Regions from separate parts of the Homo sapiens genome. Here region 1 is linked to region 2. The links are contacts of gene promoters, found by promoter capture Hi-C in blood cells and fetal thymus (Javierre and others, 2016). All regions are on one chromosome and are shown on one strand. Each heading gives the region's core, a stretch centred on a gene start or on the middle of the fragment in contact. The rest is flanking DNA. Distances are from core to core; before and after follow the strand shown. Region 1 holds the start of CLTC (clathrin heavy chain). Region 2 holds the start of MED13 (mediator complex subunit 13).

Evidence for each region. The method cuts DNA at HindIII sites, captures the fragments that hold promoters and counts their contacts. A CHiCAGO score of 5 or more calls a contact.
Region 1: a contact is called between a fragment that was not itself captured here and the fragment with the promoter of MED13 in region 2, in 1 of 17 cell types (fetal thymus). The highest score is 6.4, in fetal thymus.

What each region holds. Positions count from the first base shown.
Region 1 is chr17:59,619,220-59,626,162 of GRCh38, forward strand. It overlaps CLTC (clathrin heavy chain), which reads left to right and starts at 676. Exons shown (of 32, transcript NM_004859.4): 1 at 676-954. The coding sequence starts at 913. RefSeq lists enhancers at 390-739, 469-763. The HindIII fragment of the contact is 1,938 bases long and covers 1,106-3,043 here.
Region 2 is chr17:62,061,324-62,068,492 of GRCh38, forward strand. MED13 (mediator complex subunit 13) reads right to left here and starts at 3,955. Exons shown (of 30, transcript NM_005121.3): 1 at 3,817-3,955; 2 at 1,744-1,978. The coding sequence starts at 3,882. RefSeq lists enhancers at 3,346-3,445, 4,356-4,615 and silencers at 3,596-3,875, 4,666-4,745. The HindIII fragment of the contact is 3,767 bases long and covers 964-4,730 here.

The DNA of each region.
Region 1 (6,943 bases), core at 825-3,324, 2.4 Mb before region 2:
TGAGGGCAGGGAAGATTTTAAACCCCGTTTCAGGCCCCCTCCCTAGGCTGTAGGAAACCACCCACTCTGAAGCCCGGCGGGGGAGGAGTGCTGCAGCCAGCTGCCGAGGGAGCGCTCTGCGGCGAGGCCGTTTCCCTGAGTCACGGAGAGGGCGGGAGGCTGCGCCCGTCTGCCCCCGCCACGTCCTCCTGTGAGGGGCTCAGTCGAAACAGGCAGCGGTCGCAGGGAAACGAAGCGGCACCCGTCATGCCTCAAGGTGGCCCAAAAGCCTCTTCACTCCCAGGAGACGCCGCATTTCCTTAAAACGAGCTCTCCATTTCTGGCAGCAATCAGCCGACCCTTCCCCATCAGTATCACGTGCACCTGGAAGTACGTGGGTGGGACCTAAAGCGCCCACGGAAGTGACGTCGGTCGCCCCGAGTCGCATGATGTGGCAAAATGAAAAAAAAAAAGTGGGGGGAGAAAGAGAAGACTGGCGAAAGTGATGAGTCTAAAAAAGTAGTCCCTCCGGTTCCTCTGTTTCCCCCCATGTGGCGTCAGGAAGCGAGGCACCGGGCGCACTGCGCCCCGAATTCCTGCGCCCGCCGCGCGCGGCGCTCCGTGGAGGGGTACATAAGGCGGAGGGGGTGAGGCGACTGGGCGGAGTTCTGTCGCCGGGATCCTTCCGCTGGGCTCAGCCGTTTCCGGAGTCTGCGCTGCGCCCGGTTCCGCCATTGCGGCTCTCCTGGCCCCTGGAGCCTCCGCCCCCGACCCGAGCTCTTTCGTCTGCCTGCCAGTTTCCTGCGTCCCCGGAGAGGATCCTGCTGAGCCCAGCCTCCCCCCTCCCCTTCTCCTCCTCTCCCTTGGAGAGCCCGGGCAGCCACTGCCCCGCAGCCCCAGTGACAGGAGGAGACCATAACCCCCGACAGCGCCATGGCCCAGATTCTGCCAATTCGTTTTCAGGAGCATCTCCAGGTGCGGCCGGGCCCGGGCTGGTGAGGGCTGTGGAGAAGGTGGTAGGAAGGATGGAAGACGCTGGAGTCTGGGCCCGAGCAGTATCGGAGCTGGAGGGGCGGGGGGGTTGTCGGTGATTGGGGTAGGTGGAGGAGGGGGCACTATCTTGGAAAGCTTAAAATATTAAATGATGTGGGGCTTGGATGGAAAGGACAGGAGTTGGGGTGCAAAGAGCTGCAAGGACCAGGCCTGGATCCAAAGGCCTCTCGATCTTGCTTCCTGGATGGCCAGAACTGCGCGTACAAACTCTCTCCCCATTTTATTCATTTCATTCATTTGGGTAGGGGAGTGGGAGGGGGATTCTCCCTTGTTTCTACCAGAGCAAGGATTCTTATCCCCTGGGCCAGTGCGGGGCTGTCACCTTCCATTGCTCTCCTCTTTCCCTCATCGTGTCTGCACCCAGGAGTTGTGGGGCGGGTGGGTTGGGGAGGAGCAACCTTTTTTTTCCCTCCCTCTGCGGCTCTCAACTGAGAAAGGCACCTTCTCCGGTGGTGGGGGTTGGGGGTGGTGGTGAGGCGGTGGCTTTTCTCTTGCCTTCCCTGAGGCAGTAGGGACAGAAGGTCACTGAAAGAACGGAACGAGGGTAGAATGGGAGAACGCATTTCTTAGAGCTATGTCAATCTCAGAGTGTGTGCGGTCAAACTCCCTAAGGAAACTCGCCTCCCCTTCCCCCTTTTTTTATTTCTCTGGGGATGTTGTGGCTCTTAACCCCTCTTTGGTTCTGGAAGGTAGGAAAGAGTGATACAGAGGTTATCTTTTAGTCTTCTCGAGTAGTAGCAGGTAGTTTTGAATATCTTCTTCAGGATCGCATGGAATTGAACAGAGCCCTGGGGACAGCACAGCTGCTCTGAGACCTGCAGGGCTATTTGGTCTGTGACTGGCTTCCCTTTAGTAAGTTCTAGAGTTCTTCCCCATGGTTCCTTATCCTGGAGGCAACATATTGTTATCTGGCAACATGCCAGTGGCGGGCCTAGGCAGGTGACCATTGGAAGGCTTCACTGAATTAAACCTCTTCAGAGCTTTTGATTTTCCTGTGTCACCAATCCTGTTTTTTACTGTAGCTTAAATAATTTATTCCTATTAATTTGCTTTCTTCCCAAATATCCCCTTAAAGAAACCTGCCTCAGCTCAGTCGTCTGAAGGGCTAATTCCATAATGACAGGGAATGCAGTGGTTTGACATGACACTGATATCAGTGACCTATTAGACACTTTACCATTGAAGACCATTTTTATTTACATTTCCCCATTGGCATAGCATACATAAAGGATTCTTGTTAATAAAAGGTTTTAACATTCAGGCTATAAGTAACATAATTTCATATTTCTTTGCAAGTATTACCATGTTTGCACTAGCAAGGACTTATTTTCCTTTAAGGCTTGAAATGTAAAGAATAATAAATTTTTACCCATAAAATGAGTTAAATAATGCACTTTCCTCAGTCATCTATAATTTTCAAATAACTCATCTGAAGTAATGGAATATACCTTGGCAATAAAAACACTTTTACAGAGGGTTAAAAATGTTAAATAACAAAATGGACATTTTTTTTTGATCAATCCAAGTTTAGTTGCTGTGGTTGCTTTTGTTAAAGTGGGGTGGCAAATGAATGTGGAGAGTTGAGGGGTGCTGTTCTTAAGTGTGAGGGGAAAACGCGGGCTTATTTTCATATTAAACTGCATCTGAAATATCTTTCTGCAGACAAATGTTTATAAACCACACAGAGAATCAAGTACAGCTGCTCTTTATTTTCCACGGCAGATGTGTAGCTCACTACTAAATCTTGTGGTGGTTGGAGTAATAGCTTTTCATTTCTTTTAAAGAGGAGACAAGAATTGTTAAATGATCCCAAAGATTCGAACCCAACCTTGTCACTTATTAAAGACAAATTTAATACATGTCTGTTTTGTAACTGGATCAAAGTTTCTGCAGATGCTTGAATGAAGCCATTTTCTTCTCAAATAATTTGAAGATTTTGAATATAAAGCGATTTGCAAATTGAAAAATTCAGTCCTCTGTGTTTTGGATTGCTATGTCATGCCTAAACTTAAGCTTGCTTAGCTAATATGACTGTGCTCCAGTTGATTAATTGTGGAGCCCAAATAACTACAGCCTCTTTCATGATAATATATCTCCTAACTTCATATCATTATCTCCTCCCTTTTTAAAAATTAATAAGCATTTTGTTTTTTTGAGGAGACAGGGTTTTTGCTGGAGGTCAGTGGCACCATCACAGCTCACTGCAGCCTTGACCTACTGGGCTCAAGCCATCCTCCCACCTCAGCATCCTGAGTAGCTGGGACTACAGCCATGAGCCACCACACCTGGCTAATTTTTGTATTTTTTGTAGAGATGGAGTTTCATGTTGCCCAGGCTAGTCTCGAATGCCTGGGCTCAAGCAATCCTTTGCCTTGACCTCCCAAAGTGCTGGGATAATAGGTGTGAACCACCGAGCCCAACTAATAAGGATTATTTTAATTGGCATCTTTGGTCTTTGACCTCTGAGCTTCTACCAGTTTGCTAAGTAGCAGAAAACTTTCTGAAACACGTAGGATAAAAACTGGAAACAAGAAATGGGGAACTTAAGTGTGAGTGTAGAGTTACCTTGTGAAACTGTAAATGAACTTATTTTTATACCCTTTAACTACATTGTCCAACTGAAGGATCTCTTGTCATCAAAGCTTGGACCTACAGCAAATGAATGTGAATATATGAAGATTTCTCTTTTCCTAGACTGTTTAGACTGATAGCAGTTAATAAATGAGTGCCTATTTGAGCAAGATACTGTTGGAATTGAAGATTCTATAAAAATCCTAGGCTACATATATAAAATATTGCCTGTGATTCTTAATTTTTTGGTGATTTTCAATTTTCTGGCACATTAAGTATCTTTAGGCCACTTGACACATTCCATTGTATTCCTAGATTCTTTGGGTCTTCAATTAAAAATCTCCCTACCCTGTTCTTTCCCCTTTGATCCATAGATGCAGGCATGGAATGTGTTGTTGAGTCAAATGTTAGGGGTTCTTGCTATAGTTAGTTCGGATTGTGAATAGAAAGCAATGCTAAGTACTGGGATTTACTACATGCTTAGTTGTACTCTCTGGAAGAGGTAGACTTCCTGGAATTATGCGGCAGTCTCCTGGGAATAGCTTCTAAGTTTAAAATGTATCATATTCTTCAGAATTTTCTTGATGGTCAGTTTACCCAGCTTAAAGTGTGTGGTTAATTTTAGTGAAAGTGCTTTCACTCTGATTAGGAAATAAGACACAGAATGGTGTGTATGTAGAACACAATCATTTTCATTTGAGTATTTAGGAAAATTCACATTTCAGGAACCATGGTAGTTGCTCTTGAACAATTGTTTCTGACCATAATTGGAATTTGTACCTTGCTTTTAAAAGATTCCATTTATATCGAATCCTCAGCTTCTTTGCAAAATTGTTTTTTCCATACATATGTTTATATGTTATTCAAATTATATTTAACAAGGTGTTTTCCCTGTCATTGTTACCGTTGTGGCTTTTTCTCTTTGAGTTATTGTCCAGTAGAACTTTCTTCAATGATGGAACTGTCTACCAGCTACATAGGGATATTGAGCACTTGAAATGTGGCTGATGTGACTGAAAAACTAAATTTTTGCTTTAATTTCTTTTTAATTTAAATGTAAATAGCCACATGTGACAATTGACTCCTACATTGGACTGCACAATTATAGGCCATGCTGATGTGTTTTGTAAGTTTGAAGATTTATCTCACCACTCATGTTTATGTATTTAGAATATTTCGTTAGCTAAAATTAAAACACTCATTGTTCAAAAGTTTTAACTGAATACTGTCTGTCTTGGAAAGTGGTGGTGATGAACAATGACTAGCAGCAGACTTCTTGAGACCTTATTATGTGCTGTAAATTTGGCTAGGTACTTTCAGATCTTCACTCAATCCCCCCAGACACCTTTCTAAAAAGTGAGACTCATAAAGTAGTGGGAATGCTGTCCGAATGGGATGTGTACCTGAGTCTTCTGACACAAAATATTTCAAAGAAATTGGATAATTGACCTTAAAAAAAGAAGTTATACAGTATCCTAGAGTGCTTTTTGTCTGTTGGACTTAGGCCCAGAGAGGTGAGTTCTCTCTACTTGTTTATAGATTAACAATGTGGTATAGTAGACAGAACAGGGAGGGCTTTAGGGGTTGTTGAAACAAATGCTGTCCAATAGAAAAATAATATGAGCCACATACTTTTTTTTTTTTTTTTTTTTTTTTTGAGACAGAGTCTCACTCTGTCCTCTGTCACCTAGACTAGTGTGCAGTGGTGCGATCTCGGCTCACAGCAACCTCCACCTGCCAGGTTCAAGTGATTCTCCTGCCTCAGCCTCCCAAGTAGCTGGGATTTTAGGTGTCTGCCACCATGCCTGGCTAATTTTTCCATTTTTAGTAGAGATGGGGTTTTACCATGTTGGCCAGGCTGGTCTTCAACTCCTGACTTCAAATGATCTGCCCACCTCGACCTCCCAAAGTGCTGGGATTATAGGCATGAGCTGCTGCTCCTGGCCTCATATAAATAATTTTTTAAGTTTTCTAGCAGCCATATTAAAAGTGAAAAAACATAAAATTAATTAATTTTGGGTTTTTTTGGTAGAGACAGAGTCTTGCTATATTGCTCAGGCTGGTCTCAAATTATTGGGCTCAAGTGATCTGCTCGCCTTGGCCTCCCAAAGTGCTGGGATTACAGGCGTGAGTCACCATGCCATGCCCAGATAAAATTAAATTTAATATATTTTATTTAACTTGGGATATGCAAAATATTATTTCAATATGTAATCAGTATAAAATTTACTAATGAGATACCTTACATTCTTTTTCATACTAAATTTTCTAAATCTAGTGTGTGTGGTTTTTTTTTCTTTTTTTTTGAGACAAAGTCTCACTCTGTCGCCAGGCTGGAGTGCAATGGTGGATCTCGGCTCATTGCAACCTCCGCCTTCCAGGTTCAAGTGATTCTTCTGCCTCTGCCTCCCGAGTCGCTGGGACTACAGGCGCGTGCTACCACGCCCAGCTATTTTTTTTTTATTTTTATTTTTTGGTATTTTTAGTAAAGATGGGGTTTCACCATGTTGGTCAGGATGGTCTCAATCTCTTGACCTCGTGAAATGCCTGCCTCGGCCTCCCGAAGTGTTAGGATTACAGGTGTGAGCCACCGTGCCCGGCTATGTATATTTTGTACTTAGAGCATATATCAATTCAGACCCTATTTTCTTTGGAAATCCTGGTCCGTATTTAGAGTTCATAAAATTTACAGTTAGAAAGGCAGATTTGGGGCTGGGGGTAGTGGCTCATGCCTGTAAACTCAGCACTTTGTGAGCCAAGGTAGGAGCATTGTTTGAGCCCAGGAATTCAAGACCAGCCTGGGTAACAGAGTTAAGACCTCGTCTCTATATTAAACAAACAAAAATGAAGAAAAAGGAAAGCAGATATGCAATACTTCAGTGATCCCAAACATACTTAAGTTTTCCAGTAATTGAATCACTTACTGGTTATTATTTAATTTTAATTACTTTAAAATTACGGTAACCACATTTCAAGTGCTCATTATGGTATGTAGGTTGTGACTTGTGGTTACCATATTGGACAACACAGGTTAAGTCTAACCTCTTGCTTTTTTTTCTCTGGGAAATGGGCATACTTATCTCACAAAGTTATTATGAGGATCTGAGATCATGTATGTGAAAGTACTTTACGTAGCATTTTAGGAGCATTAATTATTGGCTAAATAATTTTTGTCCAGTACATTTTATTCAGGTATCTCAACCAATGACACAATATTCATTTACAGATCCAGTGTTTTATGGTGTATAAGTATTTGGGGTTAACACATTTACCTAAGATTTGAGTACTTACTGCAGATGAGGAACTGTGTTAGACTCTAGGGACAAGGTGGTAAACAAGA
Region 2 (7,169 bases), core at 2,705-5,204:
GCCTGGTCAACACAGCAAGACCCCATCTCTACTTAAAAAGAAAAAAAGAAAAAAAAAATTAAACATTATGTATCTCTTAAAATTATCTTTGATTCTACAAAGTGTATTTCATGGAATCTTAAAAAAAGATCTGTTTAGTCTGTTTAGATGCTCTGCCAACTTTATTAAGAAGACCAAAGCCCCTAAGTCACCATTATAGTTTTATCAATAATTATGTTTTATCAACAAATATATTTTATCAATAGTTTATAGTTTTTCAACAATGTTATACAGTCTCCAAACATTCTAGTAAGGTGATTTTTATGACCACTTAACGATTAAAATAACTCAAATACTATATCCAAAACAATGAAAGAAAAAGGAGGCTGGCGGACTTAGCTTTTGGCATAATTAGAAAGTATTGTCTCGCTAAAACTACCATATATACATACATCATGTATATGTACATATATGTATATACATATACACATCACTTTACACATTTAGAACTACATTAAATACACACAACTAAGGACTGGACTCTGCAGCAGGCATCTTATTAGAAAAACTACAAAAGCTGGAAAGCTTTCTTGAAGAATTGCAGTCACTCTCAAAAATAACAATTAACACTGGAGAGTATGTTCATTAGAATGTGAAAAGCAATTATCAAAACATACAAATGTAACACGTACATTCCTACATAAATGTTGGTCTTACTAAGTACCAGTTCAAGATACAGACACCTAGAATACATTCTATCCAAAAATAAAATAGATCCTATAGGTCAGAGATACAATAACAAAAACTTCAGAGTACTCAATTTCAAATAAGAACTTAAAAAAAATTATCTAGAAATCCTAAGTTTATCTGTCAAAAATCATTATCAAACTATCTTACTGAAGTCTTTGGAACCTTATAGCATACAACCAATCATTTATATTCCTATTATCTAAGATTCAGTTAATACTGACTTTCACAATTTAAAGCTTCAGTAATTATATGAAAAGCTATAGTTTCTCTTTCTAAAGTAGCATTTGGTCCTAAAAGTCAAGAAAATAAGGAAGTAATCACATTGATTTGCTCACAATAAAATTGTTTGTGTAACCTTTTAGATTATGATCCCATGTCCCATAAAAGCTAAACAAGTTGGCACTTTTCTCTTATTATGTTTGACAGAACAGTATATGAGTCACTTTCCAAAAATAACTAAATTAACATATGCCTTCATAAGTTAATCAAATAGCACAAATGACAATAACAAAATACATGCCTTAAAACACACACACACACACACACACCACACACACACACACACACACACACACGGATAGTTACATTTCCAGTACTTTTAGAATCATCTGCCTATTCAATGCAAAAGACTCAACTTCAGCAGTGGCTGAAGTGACTCAAAAGTTACATCTGGCTTCTAAACTATTACACGACTTTGTTAGGAACTCTGTTTCCTGATTCCATTTTTTTAGATTAATGTAACATGCCTTCTTCGGGCCCTAACTACCTGTGAGAAATTAAGAAGAGAGGTGGTGGAAGGAGAAAGTCATTCACGCCTTAAAAACCCAGCTATAACAACATGGATAATTTAAGTAAAATAAAATAATCATGGTGAAATAAAACAATGAAGCTGAATTTTTATCTGGCCTCCTAAGTCTCCCACAAAAACAAACTTAATTTGTAATACATATGACATTCTGGGAGAAGTATACAATGTTGCTATATCATTAGTTAGAAATGGAAAGTTTCTTTCACCTGATAAGTCATGGTGAATAAGGTCAGCAAAACTGGGGTCTTCACCCCACCAAAATATCCACAATTCTCTTCTTCCAGGTCTTTGATCTCGCCGCCAAACACCAAGTACATCTGCCTTAAGGCAGCGACTAAAACTGCTCAAAATGGGGTCTTCTTCTGTCACAGGAAACAGAATAGGGGCAGAAGTTGGGCCTTGCCATACATATTTTTTCCACTTAATTCCTGTCAAGTCAGCCTGAAGGAAAGAAAGCATTAAGTTTTATTACTGCATATTCACTCAAAGTCAAAAGTACTCAATATGATGTCTCTTATTTCATTAAGACATTACAATTTTTCAATGTATGCTTGAGATATTGACTGCAAATTAGAACAAAAAAAGACTTTATAATTCAACAACCAAGAATTTTAGGGAGAAGAATACAGTTAAAAATTACCACCACCATGTCACTGAATAGCAAGCAAATATGTACTCCAAGTAGAAACAGAAGAAACTGAATGATGTTAAATATAGACACACACTTCAATATGCAAACAGAGTACATTTTTCTCTGTCCTAACTGGTCACATTTGTTCACTGGTGTCAAACTTTTAACTGAAAATCAATTATTAAAGACCCTATCATGGGTTTTTATTCCACATTTACAGAAGTAACGTCTCTAATGAAAAGACATCTGAACAAGTTCTGAAAAAATCTATGTTAATTCTTCACACACACCCCTGTCGGAAAAGTCAAATAGCTACTCACAAAGAACTGTCAGATTTGTGCTAGTCTATCTTCAAAGAACTGATCCTAAAAGTACCAAAAATAGACTGAGTTGGATAAGATAGAAATATAAAACCTGGTGTATGTCTTATTACATGTGAAGAGATGCTGATTAATGGACATTGAAAAGAAAAACATACTGTAGACGAGGATAGAGTATTAAAGATCTCAATTTAGCATGGGCGTTAAGAAATTCGACAAGAGGAATTCAGTAATTTAATCTAACTTAAAGGAGCAAAGCATAAGGTGCCAAAAATGAAACTGCTGATACATGACTGGCAGTTTACACTTGCCAACTAGTTGTGCTCCTCCCACTTAACTCACTTACCTATCATATACTCTTAATATTTCTCATAGCACAAAGGAGAAAATGAAAAAGTAAAGTCACCCAAACTTAAAGTCATTGATGAAGCTCAGCTACTGTCCCATACAGGACAAGTTATTTGCAACAGTTGGTACTTCTGAAAGCCTTAACTGTTGGATGTTACCAGACCTGGGCTAACCTACACAATGATCATCCCTACATCCCGCTTCTCTCGACTTTCCATTTCAATCAAACAAGGGAGCAGCCTGCTCAAAACATTCTGAAAAAGCAACCAAAACACAATAAATATAGAAACAGTGCAAAACCACAGCACCTCGTCCACTAGCCCCCTTCACTCTCACAAAAACATCATGTTCTAATAAAAGCAAGATGGCTAGAAATTGTCAAAAATGGCAAACTGTTTTCAAAGTTTAAAAAGAAAACATATGAAATGGCACCTACTGGCTTTTACAGAGAGATCTTAAGTCACCCAAGAAAGAAACTAACCTGGCGTTAGTTTGACTCATACAAAAAAAATGTAAAACCAAGACAGGTTTCTAGGGCTTAAGTTCTGGGGTCCTGTTTACATGGGGAAACCAAATTAAAAGGGTAAGACATAAAGGCGGTGGGGAGCAGGGGCAATAATGTAAAGTGTGAAGCAGGGATACAGGGCCAATAAGGAGAAAAGCAACAGTTAAGCAAGACAAGAGGGAAAGGTTACTGTCCTGCCAGATAAGGAGCTCAAGTTGAGGACGAGACTACGGTGAGAAGGAGAGTCCGAAACAAGACGAGAAAAAATGCCAACACTCCCCTAAACAGAGCCCGGGACCGTAGGAGAGCGAACGCCGCCTCCCGGGGCTGGCCGCGGAGCTTCGCAGGGCGCCGGCTCCGGCTGGGCCTCGCCCGGGAACTCGGGCATCTGGACCAGACCCGGCCCCCTCCCCCACGGCCCAAGGGCGCACCTCGCGGCCCCCCTCCCTCGGCGCCCGCCGGCCCCGGCACTCACCAGGCAGAAGAGGTTACAGTGACAATCTTCCAGGCTGGCCCCGTTCGGCACGAAGGAGGCACTCATCGTCCCTCACAGCAGCCGCCGCCGGCGCCACAACCCACCATCCGCCATTACCGCCGCCTCCGACCAGAGAGAGAAACACAGACACCGGGGAGGGCCGGGGGGGGGGTAGTGGTTGGGGGGGCGGTGGAAGAGGAGGCCGCCGGGCGCCCGCCCTCCCCACCCACCCCCCCGCCGCCGCCGCCGCCGCCGCCGCCGCGAGCAGCCCCCGCCGCCCGGCCGGCACCCAGCCGCCCGGGGCCGAGGGCCGGAGGCGGGAGGGCCGCGCCGCGCTCGCCTGGCGGGCCGGACTGCGGATCCCGCAGACGCTCGTCCCTCTCTGGGGGACGGAGGGGATGTGTGCCCCTACCACAAGAAAAATAATAAATTACACAATAAATAATCAAAATCAAGTCCGAGACGGCAGAGCCCAAGCCCAGGACGGTTCTCCCGGGCGGAGAGGCGCCCGCACAGGAGCGGGAAGGGCGAGAACCGGGAGAGAAGCCCAGGCCCCCGGCGCGGCAGCGGCGATGTCCTTAAGCCCAGAGTCTCCTCAGCGGCGGAGGTGGTGGCGGCGTCTGCGGGCTCAGACCATTCTCTGGCTCTGTCTTCGTGTCGTTCCTGGGCCAAGCCGGCCTAAAGTTTGCCCTCCTGTGGCCTCACCGGCTGGACGCCGTAGTCTCCCCCATTTTGTGGGCCCAGCGGGCGGTGTTTTTCCCCCTTTAATCCGAATTCACGGGTTTTCCCTTCGCTTTAATGGCGGCCACAGGGACCAGCTCGCCCTCTCTGCTCACCCATTGGCCGCCTTGAGGTCACGTGGGCCCGGGCTCGGTTGGGAGGGGGAGAGAGAAGTGAGCGAGGGAGGGCCGGGAAGCTTTCGGCGGAGGCGGTGAGCTCGGGGGACGGGGCAGCCAGCTGGTGGCCACTAACATAGCGCCATCTGCTGGGTGCCCCGGCCAGTATAAAACGACCCGGGGCCCTGGCCCTCTCTTTGCGGGGAAATTTACAGTCCAGGAAGGTTCATTTCACAAATCAGTGAGAATTACGTGGAAATCAGTTTGAGTTCTTTGGAAGAGAAAGTATTGGCAAAAATTCCAAGACATTCTCATTTATTTCGCGAGGCCGCTGGGGTGCAGGTGCAAACCTCTGGATTTGGGAGTCAGATGATCTGGATGGGGATAAGACTCCTCAACCTAAAAGTTGTGATATGAAGATATAAATTTAAGAAACAAAATATTGCCCTGTAGTTAATAGACTGGGAATTAGAGCCACACTGCCTGGGTTCCAAGCTTGAGCAAATCACTTCCTGCTCTGTGTCTTTACTCATCTGTAAAATGGGGAAAACATATCCCTTACCCCACAAGCTTATTGTAATGAGTTAATACAAATTAAGCAGGTAGCCCAGTGCCCCGCACAGATAAGCACTGTTAAGAGTTAACTATTATTGTTGTCATCATTACCTCATATAGTTATTGTGACGAGCAGGAGAACTAGTGTATGTAAAGGTCTCACTATTTTTTTGTTGTTTACTTCTGTCTCTCTAGTGCCTAAAAAAAGGTTCCTAGCACACAGTAGGTGCTTGATATTTGTATAGTTACAAATGAATGGGTGGTAAGAAGTAAGAACCAAACAAAAGGTTTATTCTCTTTCCCATAAAACACCCAGTGCTTGGATGGGTTACACTTCAATATGAGTTCAAAACAGTTTCTCTGACGGTTTTAGGATTGCAAGAAAGAAAGAAGAAGAAAAAGATGATTCAGAAGTTAGAAACATCAGTGAGTTAGGACTTACTGTAATTTTATGTATTACAGATACATAATTATGTATTATGTATTACAGATACATAATTGTATCTGTAAAATGAATGGTAGACTCTTCCATGTCACTTCTTCAGCCACGGAATGAAAAGAAGTCCTCATTTATCCACTTGTTCATCTGTGGTGGTGAAGAGCCCAGATCTGAAGCCCAAAGCCTGGAGAAAAAGTTCTGCCCCTCACTAGTTAGTCTTAGATCATATTTGACCTTAGATCAAATTAATTTTGCTTTCTCTCGGTTATTGTAAAATGGGGGTAATAAAAGTACTTTTCTTCTAAAATGACTGGTGAATGAAACAATGTAGATACAGTGCTTGCCACAGTGCTTACTTAATGTTAATTATTAATGTAATTTTAAAAATCATTGAGAACCTGCTGGCTCAATTGAGTGTGTTCCTGCTCTGTGCTAGGCCTAGGATACAAATAGGAATAAGATACCTGCCTGTCCCTCAAGATTCCTGAAGAGAGGCACTAAAGGAAACATTTCCTACAGAATAAGGTAAAATACAATGGGGGTAATTGCTTGAATAAAGTATGTACCTACTATGGCATAGTAAGTGCACTAGAAGAAGAGCATCAAACTTAGAGAAGTTGTCATAAAGTAGGTAGCATTTGAAATCAGATTTGAAGGATAAAATGAATTCTTATAAAGCCCTTTGAAGCAGTTAAATCTTATTAAACCTAATTCGAACCCAAAGTCCACATATCAAAGTCAATTATGCAACCAGGACTAATTCAATCCAGGAGCTCAAATCAACTAAGGTTGGCATCCTTTATAACCGAGTGCCAGCACCAGGAGACAGCAATCCCCAGATCCAATGAGGTAAGCGCTCCTCTGCCCATTTCCCGTTCCCTGAAAAACTCCTCAGATCTTTGTTCCGCTGCTTTCCTCAGGCTGAAATGCCCTCCTCACATCTAAAGGGGTCTCCATTCTCCTTAGAAGTCTTGCCCTCCCATTGCCCCCACCCCCTGACTTGAGCACCATCCTCAGGATTCCAATGGCAGGTAGAATATACCTGAAACCTACCAGTAGGAGGTAACATTTGATTGACCTTTCTGTTTGAATGTCAATCTTTTCAAAAAGAAGAGGGAGACAAGGAGACAGAAGCGAAGAAGGGAGGAAGACCCAGAAGAAAAAGTCTGATGGAGGATCGCAGAAGGGAGCAGGAGAGAGAGAGAAAGACAGGACTGAGAGAATGGAGAAGCAGATTAGAATGGGGGGGATCCCAGTTGTGAGGGGAATGGAATCATTGGGAGAAGGGAAAGAGAAGAAATAAATATTTTCAGCCCACAAAGAACGTATCAGTAACCACTTACATTCGGTAAAAATGACATTTTGTGTGATTTAAAGAGTAATGGAGGCCGGGTGCAGTGGCTCACGCCTGTAATCCCAGCACTTTGGGAGGCCGAGGCGGGCAGATCATGAGGCCAGGAGATCAAGACCATCCTGGCTAACACGGTGAAACCCTGTCTCTACTAAAAACACAAAAAGGCGGG